Linked DNA regions of Homo sapiens: region 1 is linked to region 2. Evidence: promoter capture Hi-C in 16 types of primary human blood cells and fetal thymus (Javierre and others, 2016). All regions are on one chromosome and are shown on one strand. The core of a region is centred on a gene start or on the middle of the fragment in contact, and the rest is flanking DNA. Distances in the headings are between cores, read along the strand shown.

Region 1 (4,735 bases), core at 1,501-4,000, 120 kb after region 2:
TATAGATAACTTTCTGAGCTTCAGGTGACCTTAAAGAAAAAGATAAAGGGCAAGTGGCATCACTGGAATTGGGACTGAAGGGCCTCAATTATACAGTTTTCAGAACAAGATGTATATATAGCCACACACACAAATATACATTTATCTATACATACACACACATACATACACAGACACACATACATATCTGTAATCTATTCAGCTACACTTCCTCATTTTGGTCAACTCTCAAAGCCCAAGCGAGTTGACCTCATTTTGGTCAACTCCCACTTCCAAAGGGAAGTGTAAGGTAGTCTGTTAGCTGATGAAAGTGAGGCTTGCCTATGTAAATATTAATAATTCAGACCAAAAGAGTTTTTGTGTTCAGTGAAGTCAAAGCATAAAACCTCCCTTCTCTGTGACAGCCCCAAGTTATTTATATTTGCCCACTGTCATTGTCCTAGTTAAGGCTCTCACTACCTTGCAACTGAAAAACTGCAGTTAACCTCCTCAGTCTTCATGTCTCTCATGTCTCTATCCATCTGCTTCCAGATTAACCTCTAAGTCCTAGCCCAATGGTGTCATTTTCCTGCCCCAAAGCTTCCAATAGTTCCCTATTGTCTCTAATACAATTTCAAATTCCTTAGCTTGCCATTCAAGAACACTCATAGTCTTTTCCCAACTTACTTGTCCAGCTTCATTTGCCAATAGATCTCATTGACTTTCTTTGACTCTGTCTCAAAACAGAAAAAAAGAGAGAGAGAGAGAGACAGGCAGAGTCTTGCTCTGTCACTCAGGCTGGAGTGTGGTAGCACAGTCATAGCGCACTACAGCCTTAAACAATCCTCCTGCCTGTCTCCCAAGTAGCTGAGACTAAGGCGGGCACCAGCATGCTCAGCCATCATTCACTTATTATCCCCTCGAGATGCACTGTGTATTCCCACCTCTAAGTCTTTGGCTTATGCCACACCTAGCAATTCTTTCGCTACTTCTATCTGGTCTTATTCATTCTTTAAGGTTCTCATGAAATCCCATCTTCCTTAACTACATTGGTCCATGGATCCTTTTAAACACTTTATTTCAGTATTAGCTTGTATTTTACTGACTGTTTTCCTGTCGTCTCACCTAGATTGGACAATAAGAATGATCTTTTCCTTTATATCCTTCATAGTGCCTAGAATATTTCTGTGAAATCCGAAGAATTCAATATTTGATTAACCAGCTACCTGCATCTTGCATCTCATACTCTCCTTTATACTTCTGCTGCCACTGCCCAGGGTAAGACCCTCATCACCTCTCATCTGGATTACTGAGTGAGGCTCATATTTATTTATTCCAGCATCCAACAAACATTTAGAGGATCTACTATGTTTGAGACAATGTACTACATTCTAGAGAAATACAAAGTGGAATAAGGCATGGTCCATAATCATGTCTAATAGTGAAGACAAACAAATAATGAAAAGATAGTGCACAATAACAGTGCCACAGAGCTATGTAAAAGACAGGTGAACAACAGAAGGGGTGATCAACACTGCATGGAAAGGCCAGGGAAGAGCTGAGCCTAAAAGATAAGTGGATTGTGCCACGCGGATGATTGGTTTTCTAATCGGTTGCCCTGACTCGAGTCTCTTCCTCACTTCATCTATCATACCAGCAAGAAAAGTATCCTCCCAAGTATTTGGTGTTACTCCATTGCATATGAATCAAAGTCCAAATTCCTTAACCTGACATTCAAGGCCTTTCATTATTGGCACCAGATGGCCTTTCCAGCTCTTTCTCCATACATCCTAAACTCATCACACGACTTTTCACTCGTCCCTGAACAATTTTTGAACATGCATATTTCATCTTTGTTCAGGGACCCTCTAACTGCAACATGCTCAACTCTTGTCTTGGGGAACTCTGCACTATGTTACTTGTTTCATGCTGCCTGGTCATAATCTCTCTCTCCCTTTCTAGTTTTTCTATAGTATTTTGTCTGTATTTCTGGTATTACTGTTATCACCTTTATCTTGTATATATATTCAAATTTGACTACTAACACGGCCTCTCACATCTTTGAATTGCCACACAGAAGTCAAGCCAATGTTTGCTGACTTGAATTAAGTAAATACTGCTACTAAACCAAAAATGTTCTATTCCCTTTACATAGTAAACTTCAACTTTAAACTCCATGGAAGAAGCTAATATTCTACATTTCAGATAATCTAATTCGTAGTTTATTTTAAAAAGATATGTGGATGTTGGCTTTTTTAATACACAAAAAAGGCTAGTGTAATAGGGTTAAAACTTTATTTTAATTCTGGCAAAGAGAAGTCTTATGTCAGAAAATCATACTCAAGATGTGTGAAACCTAGTTGTGAATTTTTAATTAACAATGAGGATATGTTAGAAACTAAAACTCCTTGGATGAATTGCTGCCCACAAGGTTCTTAATATGAAGAGTTTTGAGAGTAATGAAGAGCTTTGAGAAATGAAGAGAGGGAGAATGGAAAGAGGCAAGTAAAAACTAGGTGCATTTGCAACCCACGCTTGTCTCTGCCACACATCAAATATTGTTGTTACCCACTTTATCACAGTTACATTCAGGCCAAGAGGGGCAGATCACTTGAAGTCAGGAGTTCAAGACCAGCCAGGCCAACATGGCAAACCCCTGTCTCTACTAAAAATACTGGGCATGGTGATGCATGCCTGTAATCCCAGCTACTTGGGAGGCTGAGACATGAGAATCAGTTGAACCCAAGAGGCGGAGGTTGCAGTGAGCTGAGATCGCACCAGTGCACTCCAGCCTGGGTGACAGAGCGAGACTCTGTCTCAAATTAAAAAAAAATGAAAGAAAGCAAGAAAAAAGAAAGAAAAAACAGTTACATTCTCTCACTGCCACTTACATACTGACAATAACAAAACCTAATGATGGTAGTTTGCCATCTTTCATAAATATAGTTTTCTTCTGGTATATCCCAAATAAAATAACCTCACTGATCAACACTAACAATTTACATTTACACGTATTAGCAACATGTACACTGTGGTTACATCACCAAACAGGTTGCTTTAGTCCAAAAGTTGCAAAGTCAAAAGCCAACGGGGTCAGAGAAACGATTTAAATGAATGAGGAGGCTCAGGGCTGTAATAAGGAGTGGTAGGGATGGTGGCAACCTAGAAAGTATGTGCTCCCATTTAAATAAGCATTCAAACTATGCTTAAAAACACTGTGTACAACAAGCAACACTTGTCTTCTGACTAGGCCACCTGTATGTGTCCTCTGATTTAATTATTTGTCATTTCATTGGGGGATGGGGACAAATTTGTTGTGATCAGGTAAGCTAAAATATACAGCTTTTATCCAAAAGAGGCAATAACAAGTGTTGGTGAGGATGTGGAGAAAAGGGAACCTTCCTTCCCTATTGGTGAGAATGTAAATTAGTACAATCACTATCAAGAACAGATTTGTTTGTATTTCTGGTATTATTGTTATCACCTTTATCTTGTATATATAGTTAAATTTGACTACTAAGGTAGCTTCTCACATCTTTTCTTGTTTTGTTTTGAGATGGAGTCTTACTCTATTGCCCAGGCTGGAGTGCAGTGGTGTGATTTCGGCTCACTGAAACCTCCACCTCCCAGGTTCAAGGGATTCTCCTGCCTCAGCCTCCCAAGTAGCTGGGATTACAGGTGCCTGCCACCACACCCAGCTGATTTTTGTATTTTTGGTAGAGACGGGGTTTCACCATGTTGGCCAGGTTGGTCTCGAACTCCTGACCTCATGTGATCCGCCCACCTCGGCCTCCCAAAGTGCTGGGATTACAGGTGTGAGCTACTGTGCCTGGCCAGCCTCTCACATTTTTGAATCGCCATATAGAACACAAGCCAATGCCAATGTCTTCTATGGAGGTTTCTCAAATAACTGAAAATAGAGCTACCATACGATCCAACATTCTACTCTTAGATGTATACCCAAAAGGAAGAAAATCAGTGCATCAAAGAGATATCTACACTCCCATGTTTGTTGCAGCACTGTTCACAATAGCCAACGTTTGTAAGCAACCTAAGTTTTCCAACAGTCTTATGAAGACCTAGCTGAGCCTCTAGAAAGTGCTTAATTTTTTTCTTGGGCTTCCTATCAATGAAGAGGAGTTCCTTACCACATTCTAGCTGCCTTGAACTCACCTTCAGGAAGCTAGCCAAACTATAGTTCACATTTCTGGACTCATCGGGAATCTCCGCATACCGAATAGTCACATGGGGAATTATTGCAAGAAGCAGTGAATGTAAGACATGATGATATGTCTCGGGAAATCTCTGGCCTCGGGGAAGCTGAAATGAAATAGGCACAGAAAAAAGTCAGACTTCCAAAAGGTCTAAATCAATTGCCATTTTTACTTTCAAACACATTCTACAAATAAATATATCTTAAAACTGATGTATAATTGTTCTCCCAACTTAAAAATGACATCACTAGTTCAAGATGTACTTCACTCTATATAATTACAGGAACTATCTGGATCTCTAATAATCTACCTGACTGAGGTTATCAGCAAGAATGGGTTGTTCTGCCCCAACTTTGGAATATCATGCTTCTGAGTTACAGACACAACGCAGTTTTCATTCTACTTTTTTCCTGGCACACAAAGTATGCATGCACTTCAATTTCAGTAAACATATTCTGTGAAAATTCTGATAAAAAATAATTAAGTATAAGGTAAATATTTTGTACTTCACAAGTCTTAGCTTTATGATTCCTATGAATAAG
Region 2 (4,572 bases), core at 88-2,587:
ATGCCACCTTTCAGCAACATTTGTTTTCTTCTCGATCCACCCTTTTTACAATGGCAAACCCCTTCCCACCTGCTCTGTTTTTCTCTACTTAACACCCTCAGACATATCATATATTTTACCCCCACCCCCCGATATGTCTGAGGGCAGGCACCTCATCTGTTTTGCTCACTGCTGCATCCTCAGCCCCTAAACACTGCCTGGCAGCATGTATTTTATTGACTGAATCCATAGAGGGCATTAAGGTTTCCTAATCAACATTTCAACTTGGATTTCAAAGCACATTGGTAAAAATGCAATAAGCATATATAAGTGTTTGTGTCAATGTGATAATAAAACCTATACAGTTTGGGGCTTTCATTGTCACCAAAAACGTCCAGAAGGCCATTCCTTCCAGGAGCTGCTCCTAAGGAAGTCATTAACTCCCAATTTTTCACAACTGCCAGGTTGATTAACTAGAAGTTACCAAACAGGGTGAGGGATATACACAACTCTCTGAAGTATCTTTGCAACTTTTCCATAAATCTACAATTACCCTAAAATATAAGGTTTATTAAAGAGAGTGGGGTGGGGGGAGCATCTGCCGGGATGCTATTCTGGATTTCCCAAAGGATTTCTTCGACGCCAGAGGAGGTCATGAGCGTCACGTCCTTTTTCAACAAGGACTGAGATGTTTAGAGGTTCCCTTCAACTTCCACTCGCAAGAGCCACCCTTAGACAGTGAGGATTGGCGCGGCCTCGGGCAAAGAGCCCCGGCGCGTTCTCAGCTCGCCTGGACTTCGGTCGTGGTCCCCGCCGGCTCTGGCGCCTCATTTCCTCCCGGGCTCACAGGCGACATTCCGGGCGCTGACCCACGGCCCTCTGACGCCGTGGGCATGTTTCGGGCCCCCCGCCCCCGCACGCCTGGACGCCAGCCTCCTGGGCTCTTCCCACTACAAGTCGCAGCCCTCTTACTTCGCTGCCGCCACCTCCGCCGCACCCGGAGTTCGGGAAAACCCCGCAGCTCCCGGGTCCCACCTCGAACCGGCCCCAGTACCGGGCCCCAGAGATCCCGCGCGGGAAGCCGCAGCCGCCGAGCGCGGGGCCTCGCGAGGGCAGCCCCCAGCACCCACCCCAGCTTCGGCCCTCCGCCCGGCGTTGACCTCCGGGGCCTTTCAGCCGTGACCCTCACCGCCCTCAGCCCTCCGGCCGCCCCTCGGGCCCCGAGGGTCGCACTCACCCGTAGGCGCGGCGCCCCCGCCCCCGCCCCCGCCGCCGGCGCAGAGCAGCAGCGCCCACAGCCCGCAGAGCCGCGCCGGCCACTCCATGCAGCCTCTCGCCTCGGAGCCCGGCCGGGCTGGAGCCTTGGCAGTCCCCGCCTCCTTCGCTCCCTCTTCCACTTCCCGGCTCCGCCGCCCTGGAGGCTGGGGGCCGGCGCAGACGGGAAGGGCCGCCCCGCCCACCGGCCTCAGGTAACCTGAGCCGGCGAGAGCGGCCGGAGGAGGCGGGGCGGGGCGCCGGCGGCTCTGGCGGCTCTGGCGGCTCCTACGGCTCCCAAGGCTGGACACCTGGCCCACCCGCAGCTCCCGCGTCCGGTCTCTGACCGAACAAAACTTCTTCCACCACGTCGCCGCCCACTCCGGGCGCTGCCTGGGCCTCCTCCCTCCGCGTGGCGGAGCCGGCGTCGCCGCTGCCAGCACACTTGCGGGGCCTCGGAGGTGCTAGGGGCTGTGCCCTGCTGGACACCAGGACAGAGTCATCTGCGGAAAAGAGCCTTGGCCTGGGAGTCTGGAGACCTGGCTTCCAGCCCTTGACCTCTGAGCCCTTGTTTGCTAGCGCTGACTCCAGGGTTAGTAATACCAGCCCTACTTCACTGGGTGGAGTTGGGGACACTGGCAGTACTGTGCTTTGTGAAAAGGACAAAGGGCATATTTGAAAGCTGGCAATACATAATGTTGATTTTAAAAGGAACATTCCAAACATGAGGGAGGATACCATACGTGCATTTTTTAAAGCACACGACAAACTTTCTACATATTTTTCAAAGGGATGGGAGGTGAATCGGAAGAATACACATTGATACTTGGGCGCCTATGAGGGTCAGTGAGGCTGGGAGGAAGGAAAACAAGAGTCCTTAGGCGTTTCCTGTTGCTGCTGTCAAAAATGACCACAAATTTAGTGATTTAACAGTTTTATTTTATTACAGTTCTGGAGGTCAGAAGTGACACTGAGCTTAAATCAAGGTGTGGGCAGAGATGTATTCCTTCTGGATATTCTAGGGGAGAATCTGTGTCTTTGACTTTTCCAGCTTCTAGAGGCTACCCACATTCCTTGGCTTGTTGCGGAACTACTCAGACCTCTGCTTCCCTTGTCGTATCTGACTCTGACCCTCTTACTTCCCCTTTTCCCTTATAAATACCCTTGTGATTAGATTAGGTCCACCAGATAATTCATAATAATCTCCCCATCTCAAAATCCTTGATTTAATCATAACTGAAAAGTCATTTTTGCTATGTAAGTTAACATATTCACAGGTGTTGGGGATCACGATATGGAATCATGGGAGGGGGACATTATTCTATCACCTTCTCCCAAAAAAGAATCATGTCTAGGTGGATGATGAGACCCATAATGAGGTGTATTTTGGCCGAATTAAGCCAATGCATATACCTGAAAACAGTTACAAAAAGTATAGCAATAAAAATGCTGATAATATACCTAGTCTAGACCCCACCCAAAGGGCACAGGGTTGTTTAACCTATTCACAACAAAGGTTCCACTCTTGGAATTAAGGCTCTCAAACTCAATAAATATTTATGAAATTGTTCCAGGAACTGTTGAAGACACTCACCAAAAGCAAGCTCTGCTAACAGAAAGCTGCAGTCAGTCTGAGGGGCAATGATAAGGGCAAGAACAAGGAATTATGGGATACAAAAAGGGTACCTTTTGGGAGGGAAGGAGCAAGGGAAGCTTCCAGGAGGAGGGCCTGCCTGTGCTGAATCTCAGGATGTTGATTCTTTTGGCTAACGGTTCAGAATAAATTCCAGAATCCAGGCATGGTGGCATGCACCTGTAATCCCAGCTATTCTGGAGGCTGAGGTGGAAGGATCACCTGAGCCCAGGAGTTCAAAACCAGCCTGGGTCTGTAACAGAGTGAGACCCCGTTCTCAAAAAAAAAAAAAATAAATCCTGGCTTGCATGTGTTATCGAACAAAATAATGTTTATGAAAACAGTTTGTAAAGTATCAAGGCCTGTAGAACTGAGAGATAGTATCATTATTTCTAAATCCCTCCCACAAATAGGTCAGCCACTGTGTATCCCAAGGCCTTTCCTCCACCACCACGGACATATACACTTGTTGACATTTGCTATAAACATTATACAATAAGTTTATAATAACGTTTCCAAAATGGTTATGTCATCTGCCTTTTAAGGAGTCTTTAGTTGGAACAGGAGCCCCTGGGGACTGGCTGAGTGCCATCATGGGCACTGCTTGGCATAGATTGACCAAGCGCTTAATAAAACAGTAATGGTAGCAAATGATTAGAAAAATAGGGATTGCAGCTTGTCATGAGCTTCCAGAAAAGCCCTGAGAATCTGAACATCGTGAGGAAAAAAAACAAACGGCAGTGTGGAGAGGGGAGAGACCTGATTTCTTTTCACCAAGATAGTTCCGGCCTGCTGGCCTTAAGACTATATTGTTACTTTCCTTTCTTCCCGACCCTGAACATCATGCAACGATTTTTCAAATTTTTGGAAGGGGGTGGAAAGAGTCAGGAATGCTGTTTCTTCAACATAAAACTTGTATTTGTAATCTCCGTGTAGTGTGATTCGAAGAGCGTCTTGGATTGAATCAGGCCACTGCCCTGGTCTGCAGGAAGAATGAAGACAGATAGAAGGCTTTCCAGGAACTGCAGTAGACAAGGAGCTTTCAGTTTGGCTTTGTGTAAATCAAAATCATGATGAGTCAACATCAAGTTTAACCCTTAGAGTCCTGATGACTTGGGTGCGAGACTACCAGTGGCCTTTCTTTCACTTTGGCCCGGGGTGGCTGGAGTTCTGCGCTGCCCTGTGTACCTAGGCCACTCCACTCAACTGTTTTGACCTTTGCCCTTCTCACTAAGTCTTCGTCCATTTCTGTAACTGGAGGCTGAAAAGGGCATATGCAAGAAAATGTCTGGCAGGAAAGAATGATGTCCCTCTTTCCAAAGTCAGGTGTCCTTCCATCCATTTAGAGACACCTTCCTGAGTCCAAAAGGGACACAGACACCAGCATATTCCAAGGGCTTAGCTAAAAGTGCTGGTCCCTTAGACAAAAATCTCACAAAGAGTCCTCTAAGCAAAACCTCACACCACTGCAAAACAAAGAAAAAGGAGAAGTTGAAAACAGGGAATTTCCCTCCCGATTCTGGATCAGTGGCCCCCAACCAGGGGCAATTTTACATCCCAGGGGACATTCGGCAATATGGAGAGATATTTTTGGTTGTCATGACTGAAGCGGGGGCATGCTTCTGGAATGCAGTGAGTAGAGGCTGGGGATGCTGCTGTTAATACAATGCACACGACCGCCCCCACAACAAAGACTTACTCTACTC

Evidence for each region. The method cuts DNA at HindIII sites, captures the fragments that hold promoters and counts their contacts. A CHiCAGO score of 5 or more calls a contact.
Region 1: a contact is called between a fragment that was not itself captured here and the fragment with the promoter of IL13RA1 in region 2, in 2 of 17 cell types (monocytes and neutrophils). The highest score is 8.5, in monocytes.

The regions. Positions count from the first base shown.
Region 1 is chrX:118,609,836-118,614,570 of GRCh38, reverse strand. DOCK11 (dedicator of cytokinesis 11) reads right to left here. Exons shown (of 53, transcript NM_144658.4): 28 at 4,153-4,299. Among named protein-coding and RNA genes, the nearest start is that of IL13RA1, 120 kb to the left of the region's middle. The HindIII fragment of the contact is 4,338 bases long and covers 582-4,735 here.
Region 2 is chrX:118,724,371-118,728,942 of GRCh38, reverse strand. IL13RA1 (interleukin 13 receptor subunit alpha 1) reads right to left here and starts at 1,337. Exons shown (of 11, transcript NM_001560.3): 1 at 1,217-1,337. The coding sequence starts at 1,304. RefSeq lists a silencer at 1,299-1,728. The HindIII fragment of the contact is 2,975 bases long and covers 1-2,948 here.